Linked DNA regions of Homo sapiens: region 1 is linked to region 2. The links are contacts of gene promoters, found by promoter capture Hi-C in human tissues and cell types (Jung and others, 2019). All regions are on one chromosome and are shown on one strand. The core of a region is centred on a gene start or on the middle of the fragment in contact, and the rest is flanking DNA. Distances in the headings are between cores, read along the strand shown. Region 1 overlaps ARPC1A (actin related protein 2/3 complex subunit 1A). Region 2 holds the start of TECPR1 (tectonin beta-propeller repeat containing 1).

Region 1 (4,199 bases), core at 521-3,020, 1.1 Mb after region 2:
GAGACGGGGTTTCCCCGTGTTGGCCAGGCTGGTCTCGAACTCCTGATCACAGGTGATCTGCCTGCCTCAACCTCCCAAAGTGCTGGGATTACAGGCGTGAGCCACCACGCCTGGCCCATAGATCCTAATTTTAATTTTAAGAAACCAATAAAAAGAAAGAGGGGCTGGGCATCGTGGCTCATGCCTGTAATCCTAGTGCTTTGGGAGGCCAAGGCAGGAGAATTGCTTGAGGCCAGGAGTTAAAGACCAGCCTAGGCAACATAGTGAGACCCTGTCTCTACTAAAAATAAAAATTAAATTCAATTAAAAAAAAAACAGATGAACTAGATGGGGTAAAAAAAGATACATGAATACAGGTCTAGTATCCCTTATCTGAAATGCCTGGGACCAGAATTTTCTGGACTTACGATTTGGGGATATTTGCATAATATATACGATTTGAGCACTGAAAATTTGAAATCCAGCTGAGCCTGGTGGCTCATGCTGGTAATCCCAGCACCTTGGGAGGCCAAGGCAGGCAGATTACCTGAGGTCGGGAGTTTGAAACCAGCCTGACCAACATGGAGAAACCCTGTCTCTACTAAAAATACAAAATTAGCTGGGCGTGGTGGCGCATGCCTGTAATCCCAGCTACTTCGGAGGCTAAGGCAGGAGAATCGCTTGAACCTGGGAGGCGGAGGTTGCAGTAAGCCAAGATCGCGCCATTGCACTCCAGCCTGGGCAACGAGAGCAAAACACTATCTCAAAAAAGAAAAAAATGAAAATCTGAAATCCAAAATGTTCCAGAGAGCATTGCGTTTGAGCATGACCTTTTGAGTGTCATGTTGATACTCAAAAAGTTTTGGATTTGGGAGCATGTCAGATTTCAGCTTTTCAGATTAGGGATGCTCAACCTGTATGAGTTTTTAAAAAGTCCGTTTTGTGTATTATATTTTGGATTAGTTCAGGAAATTACTCTTGAAAACAAAGTATTGTGATTTATATTGGCTTTATTGTAAAGGAGAATTTCAGTATAGTTTATCAGCAGAATCAATTTTTTTAATATAAACTAGTGGTTCCAGCCTGGGTCCATGATAGCAGTAATGGAAGTCCATAACCTATTTTCAGTGTTTCAAAAAGACAAACAGAAATTTAGATTTAGCTCTAATAATATTGCACAGGTGAATGAAACTGTCAAACATTTTTACCCTGATCTAAAGTTATTTTAGCTAAGTACACTAACATTGTTTATTTTTCGCTGGTTAGAATCATTAATTGACAGTTGTACGTGTCTCTGGGAAAATGAATTTTAATCTTAGTTTTCCTGTAAAGCATTATAAAATACAGGGTCCAAGTAAAGGTTAAAAAAAAAATGGAATTATTCAGAGGTGAATTTGGGAACTACTTTTTCAAAAGTTTTTCTTTTCCTTACTATAGTCTGCTTTTAAAACAACTGTGACATGTCCCCTTTTTGGTGACAATTGCAAGTTCAGGTGTTAACTGTTGTTTGACTTGTGTCTCCAGAGATTGCCCTCAGTCCCAATAATCACGAAGTGCACATCTATAAGAAGAACGGGAGCCAGTGGGTGAAAGCTCATGAACTCAAGGAGCACAACGGACACATCACAGGTAAAGGAAGATAGCCGTGAGCTTAGTGTGATATTTCCAAATCAGGCACTCTTCCTTTTAGATAAAGAGCCTAATAAACCCAGGTGGCCATAATTTTTTTTTTTTTTTTTTTTTTTTTGAGAAGGAGTATCACTCTTTCGCCCAGGCTGGACTGCAATGGCGCAATCTCGGCTCACTGCAACCTCCACCTCCCGGGTTCAAGTAATTTTCCTGCCTCAGCTTCCTGAGTAGCTGGGATTACAGGCACGCGCCACTATGCCTGGCTAATTTTTTTTATTTTTAGTAGAGATAGGTTTCACCATGTTGGTCAAGCTGGTCTCGAACCCCTGACCTCGTGATCCTCCTGCCTCGGCCTCCCAATGTGCTGGGATTACAGGAGTGAGCTACCGCACCTGGCCCGTAATATTTAAAGTCATGCAGCACTTACTGAATTTCCTTAAAATTTTAAAGAAAATACTATAATGATCTTAGTTGTTAAGTGCTTCTTGTGGCCCCAGCTGGTACCCAGCACTCTACCGTTGCTATGGAAAGCACTGAACCTACCCTGAGGACTAAAGAGCTAAAATTAGGAGATGAGACGTGAAATTGAAAGCTAGATAACATGAAAATGTAGACAACACGAAAACGTGCGCCAAACTATTTCCAAGTGTCTTCCAAAAGTTTCCTTTGTGTTTTTAGGGTAAGGAAGACTTTCCAGAATATTGAGAAGAACAAAGTAATATAATAAACACCCATATCAGATAATCGCCACCAGAATTACCAACTTTTTCCCTGTGCCAGGAAGTAATTTCTTTTCCTGTATCAGGAAACTTAAGGAAAAAGGATGTAATAATAAGGAATATTATTCTTGATGATGGTAAAGTCACCTCTCACCAGCAGTCCTATTCCTCTCCCCTGGAAGGCAGACTATAATTTGCTATGACACCATTCCAGTCCATTTTTAATACATTTACATACATACATATTCATAAACAAGCTTAGGCCAAGCACAGTGGCTTACACCTGTAATCCCAGCACTTTGGGAGGCTGAGGCGGGAGGATCGCTTGAACCCAGGAATCCAAGACTAGCCTGGGCAACATAATGAGACCCCCCGTTAGCACGGTGTGGTGGCATGCACCTGTGGTCCCAGCTACTTGTGAGGCTGAAGTGGGAGGACCACTTGAGACAAGATCAAGGCTGCAGTGAGCTGTGATCACACCACTGCACTCCAGCCTGGGTGACACAGCAAGACCCTCATCTCAAAAAAAAGAAAAAAGAGAAAACAATCTTTAGGACTATTGACTAGTATTTTTTTGAAGCTACATAAATGGCATGATACTATGCATCTCCGGCAGCCTGCTTTTGCATTCATGATTGTTTCTGAGATCCATCTATGTTGCTGTCTAGATCAAGTTTATTCCTTTTAACCACTCTTTAGCATTTTATACCTCATTTATTTACTCCTTCCTCCACTGAAGAACATTTAGGTTGTTTCAATTTTTCCATATTACATGAAAGTGCTGAATAGGCATCCCTTGATTTCTGTACGTATGTGTGAATGTTTGTAGATGGTAGATGTGTTAATACCACAGGGTATGCATATCTGCAGTGCAGTGTTGCCAGGCCTCATCAGATTGCCATCATTCCCACCTGTCCTGTATGAGAGTGCTCATTTTCCCACACCCCGCCACATACTTGAGATGGGAAGACTGAAGAATGCATGAAAGGTTCATCCATTGCTTCTGTAAGTTGTATTTTCCTGATTCATGGAAAAGTTGAGATACTTTCAGACGTGTATTAGCCATGAGAGTTTTTCTTCCTTGTGACTGTCCTGTTCATAAATCCTGATCATTTTTTCATTGAGTTTTTGTCTTTTTTCTGTTTTTGTTTGTTTGTTTGTTTGTTTGTTTGTTTTGAGATGGAGTGTCATTCTGTCGTCTAGGCTGAAATGGAGTGGTACAGTCTTGGCTGACTGCAGCCTCTGCCTTCCAGGTTCAAGCAATTCTCCCGCCTCAGCCTCCCGAGTTGCTGGGATTACAGGTGCCTGCCACAATGCCCAGCTAATTTTTGTATTTTTAGTAGATGTGGGATTTCACCACATTGGACAGGCTGGTCTCAAGCTCCTGACATCAAGTGATCTGCCTGCCTTGGCCTCCCAAAGTGTTGAGATTACAGGTGTGACCCTTTTTTTTCTTTTAGACAGGGTCTTGGCTCTGTTGCCCAGTCACCCAGGCTAGAAGGATCATGGCTCACTACAGCCTCAACCTCTTGGGCTCAAGTGATCCTCCCATCTCAGCCTCCCCAGGAGCTGGTACTAAAGGTGTGCGCCAGCACACCCGGCTAATTTTTTTGTAAAGATAGATTTCACCATGTCGCCCAGGCTGATTTTTTATTCTTTTAGTTGGACTCTGCAATTTTACCTCTAATCACCTAAAATACTGATAAGCTTAGAGATATCCTTACCCAAATGAGAGAACTTAGCATGTTTTGCTATTCTACATCCTTTACAGAAGTTGTCCTGCATTCTTCAGCAATAACTCATGGCCACCCTTGCTTTGACCAGTGATTTATAAATAATGCTCTTGAGCACCAGTAGCTGAGTATATTTCCA
Region 2 (3,898 bases), core at 270-2,769:
TTAGCTAGACTCAGTCTGCAGGTTGAGCTCAATGAAAGGAGATTTTGACTTTCCTTCAAATAAATGACTAAGCACTAATTTCCTCATAGACATCATTGAATCTTCTGGGCAGTTAATGGGAGAAGACTCTGCTACAGTGAAAGGGAGGGGTGGGGGGTTGCTGTATTTACAAACTCCCTTCAGAGTAGAGACCCAGGCACCTGTCGTCACTTCCTAGCTACAGTTGACATCCGGTAACCATCCTTGGTCAGCCACACTTTCTTTCTGCCTCTGCCAAGAGGCTCCCCCTAGCTCCTCATGGGCCACTTTCTGGCTGTGAGCTGATCAGGCAACTTACACAGGGTCACTGGGTCAGAGGACTCTTGAAAGGGGGGTTGGAACATGAAGCCCCATGATTCAGGGATCCTGGGACTTGTTTGTTTTGTAGGGTTAGAGGGATGGAGGAAAATCTTCCAAATCAGCAGCCTCGAATTCACCAAGAATTTCTACAAGATGAATTTGAGTTGAACCTTCAGTCTTTCCACGAAGAAGGTCTGCTCGCCACCCTCAAAGCCATCTGCCTTTCTGTCTCAGTTTATTCACAGATCCTTTCAGAGACCAAAAAAAGCACCCAAGAGAGGCGGGGACAGAGATGTGGTAGAGGAAAAGACACAGTACAAAGAACGCTCCGCAAGCACTTACTTCCTCTGAGCCTTAGGAGTCCTACCTAAAAGGTTTCTTGCTTGTTTTTCTATTACACTGTCACTCCCATCCGGTATGCAAACAGTCGGCAATGCCTACTACAGTAGCTCGCTGGCTGCCAGGTGCAGGGGCTGTTCAAAAGCGACATCAGGGTCCTAAAAGGTGGGAAAAAGCAGCAGAACTTGCATGGTAGTTGATTCTTTCCTGAAGAATAGGGTCCGCCCAGCCCCACCGGGCAGGAGGTGTCCTGAGTCAGCCTGGCGTTCAGCCCAGTGCTGTGCACTTGGGTGACAGGTGGGGCCCCTGCACTGCCACCAGTAGCATATGTCGGAGCTCTGGGCCCTGACCATCTGCCAAAGCTAATCTTACGACAAGCAGATTTGCTCCCATCAATACCCAGGGAGAGGGATAGGCAGGCCCCTTGCTGCGTGATTCTCGAAAACAACCAGGATCCCGCGATCCGCTTCTCCTATGGCTCCAGTCCAAAGGCTGGAATGGGGGCGTCACCTGCACCAGGCAACTTCGCTAGCCTGTGGGCGTTCCAGGGCAGGGGACGGGGGCGGCACCTTCCAGGTGTGCAGGCGAGATGACAAGTGCGGTCCCTCCTTCCTCCCTCCCCGCGAGCAAACAGCCTGGGGGTGGTGGGGAAGGCGGCGTGCCCAGCCCTTCATCGCCCCATTCTTTCCCACGGCCCTGGCCGCCGCTGCAGCTGGGGCGCCACTCTGCACTCACCTGGGCCCGCGCCGGGCGGGGCGAAGTCGCGGTGGTAGGTCCTCGGCGTCCGGGAGGAGCGGACCGGCCCTCCCGGGGACCGGGCAAGAGGGTGGGCCGGAAGCGGCATCAGGCCCCGTGCCCATTGGCCAGCCTCGCCAGGACGCTGCGACCTGGGACGTGCGATTGGCTGCGGTGCGCCGCGTCGGTGCTGGCTTCGAGGTCGCGCGCCCGCCCACTTCCGGGGTCGCGCCAGGTCAGGAGTCCAGAGTCGGCTGAAGCGAGTTGCCGCGTTCTCTCTGGCGGCGCGACACCGGCCCGTGGACCGCCCGGCCGCCCTCCAGGACCCGGTCTGCAGGAGCGGAGAGGGCGGTGTGGACACCGCCTGCAGGCGAGGAGAAGGGGTGGCGGAGAGGGTACCTGGGTGCGTGGCTGTGCGGCGTCAGGAGGAGCAGGGTGTGGGCGCCCGGCCTGGGGCGTGGAGAGGACGCAGGGAACAGGTGTCTTCCTGGTATCCATCGAACTGAAACGTAGCCCTTGAGCACACACTACACTTAAAGCTTTACTCTTTCGAGGAGGAGTCCTGGAAGCATATGTGATTTTGTGACTATAGCATGGTGTGGTGTCAGTAACAGGCCCTGGATTGCTCAAACTCTATTGTCAGTGACAAAACCCAGTGTAAGCTGGCCTAATATATTAATAGTAATATGCGAGTCCTCCCGGGGTGGCGGGCACTGACGTAAGTGCTTTACTTGGGTCTTCTCATTTCATCCTCCCAGCAACCCAAAGAGCTGGCGGCGTCATTCCCATTTTACAAATGCGAACACGGGCTCAGAGATGGAGCGACTCACGTTGTAAGCGATGGAACTGGGATTTGAAAACACTGTATCCCGCCTGGCAGAAAACTGGCAAGGTTAGGATGGAGAAAGGAGAAAAAAGAAAGATGTCGGCCAGGTGCGGCGGTTCATACCTGTAATCCCAGCACTTTGGGAGGCCAAGGCGGGCGGATCACTTGAGGTCAGGGGTTTGAGACCAGCCTGGCCAAGATGGTGAAACCCCGTCTCTAGTAAAAATGCAAAATTAGCCAGGGGTGGTGGCGCATGCCTGTAATCTCAGCTACTCGGGAGACTGAGGCAGGAAAATCGCTTGAACTGGGGAGGTGGAGGTTGCAGTGAGCTGAGATCGTGCCACTGTGCCACCGCACTACAGCCTGGGCGACAAGAGCAAAACTCCTTCTCAAAAAAGAAAAAAAAGGGCATCTGATGGAAGGCTAGATACTACCCGACATTGAGCTAAACCAATGTCACCTGGTTGGACCTAGGGACCTATTCCTGCTCCCCCTCTAGTTCTGTCTCATTTCTGGGGTTGCACACAGGCTTTTCCTGGGCCTTCATGTTTGGGGAAGCCCCACACAGGCCAGCTCCAGTGGAAGAAAACGCCCCCAGAAGCCTCTTGTTCACCCCGGATGGCTCTGTGGAGTCCTGTGTCTGACCCTGACTTTAGCTTGGGCCTGAGGGACTGGCATTTGTGGACTTGGTCTGGAGATGTGGGCAGAGCCCCCCTCAAGCATAAGGGCTCAGCCAGGCACAGGGGGTGGCTCCTCAGAGGAAGATCAGGGTGCTATTAGCAGAAGGACGATGAGTGGGCCGGGCGCAGTGGTTCACGCCTGTAATCCCAGCCCTTTGGGAGGCCGAGGCGGGTGGATCATGAGGTCAGGAGATGAGACCATCCTGGCTAACATGGTGAAACACCGTCTCTACTAAAAACACAAAAAATTAGCCGGGCGTGGTGGCGGGCGCCTGTAGTCCCAGCTACTCGGGAGGCTGAGGCAGGATAATGAGGTGAACCCAGGAGGCGGAGCTTGCAGTGAGCTGAGATTGTGCCACTACACTCCAGCCTGGGCAACAGAGCAAAACTCTGTCTCAAAAAAAAAAAAAAAAAAAAAAAAGGAGGATGAGTGGTCGCTAGACTGCTGGAGAAACAGTCTAGAGGTAGGGAGCCCTGGGTTCTGTCCTGCCTGTGACACTCTGTAGCCATTTATCTCCTCTTTAGCTTTAGTTTCCACATTAAAAGAGGCATTGAAAAAAAATGAAAAAGAGGCATTGAATTAGGAGCTTTCTGTGGCCCCTTGCAGTTTTCATGTGTGGTGACAAAGTTCAATATAGTTTTCCTGAATTCAGGGGCTTGGGGACCCATGTCCCCCTATCCCGAGTTCTTTTTTTTTTTTTTTTTTTTTGAGAGGGAGTCTCACTCTGTCACCCAGGCTGCAGTGCAGTGGTGAGATCTCAGCTCACTGCAACCTCCACCTCCCAGGTTCAAGCGATTCTCCTTTCTCAGCCTCCTGAGTAGCTGGGACTACAGGTGTGTGCCACCACGCCAGGCTAATTTTTTTATTTTTAGTAGAGACAGGATCTCACCATGTTGGCCAGGCTGGTCTTGAACTCCTGACCTCAGGTAATCCACCCATCTCAGCCTCCCAAAGTGCTGGGATTATAGGCGTGAGCCA

What was found. The method cuts DNA at HindIII sites, captures the fragments that hold promoters and counts their contacts. A contact is called where the count stands out against the background at its distance.
Region 1: a contact is called between a fragment that was not itself captured here and the fragment with the promoter of TECPR1 in region 2, in 1 of the 25 tissues and cell types used here (IMR-90 fibroblasts).

What each region holds. Positions count from the first base shown.
Region 1 is chr7:99,336,678-99,340,876 of GRCh38, forward strand. It overlaps ARPC1A (actin related protein 2/3 complex subunit 1A), which reads left to right. Exons shown (of 10, transcript NM_006409.4): 3 at 1,504-1,608. Among named protein-coding and RNA genes, the nearest start is that of ARPC1A, 13 kb to the left of the region's middle. The HindIII fragment of the contact is 3,077 bases long and covers 233-3,309 here.
Region 2 is chr7:98,250,713-98,254,610 of GRCh38, forward strand. It overlaps TECPR1 (tectonin beta-propeller repeat containing 1), which reads right to left and starts at 1,520. Exons shown (of 26, transcript NM_015395.3): 1 at 1,414-1,520; 2 at 682-836. It overlaps LOC124901706 (a long non-coding RNA gene), which reads left to right and starts at 1,647. Exons shown (of 2, transcript XR_007060448.1): 1 at 1,647-1,816; 2 at 2,172-3,898. RefSeq lists an enhancer at 1,167-1,910 and silencers at 1,227-1,616, 1,707-1,806. The HindIII fragment of the contact is 13,154 bases long and covers 1-3,774 here.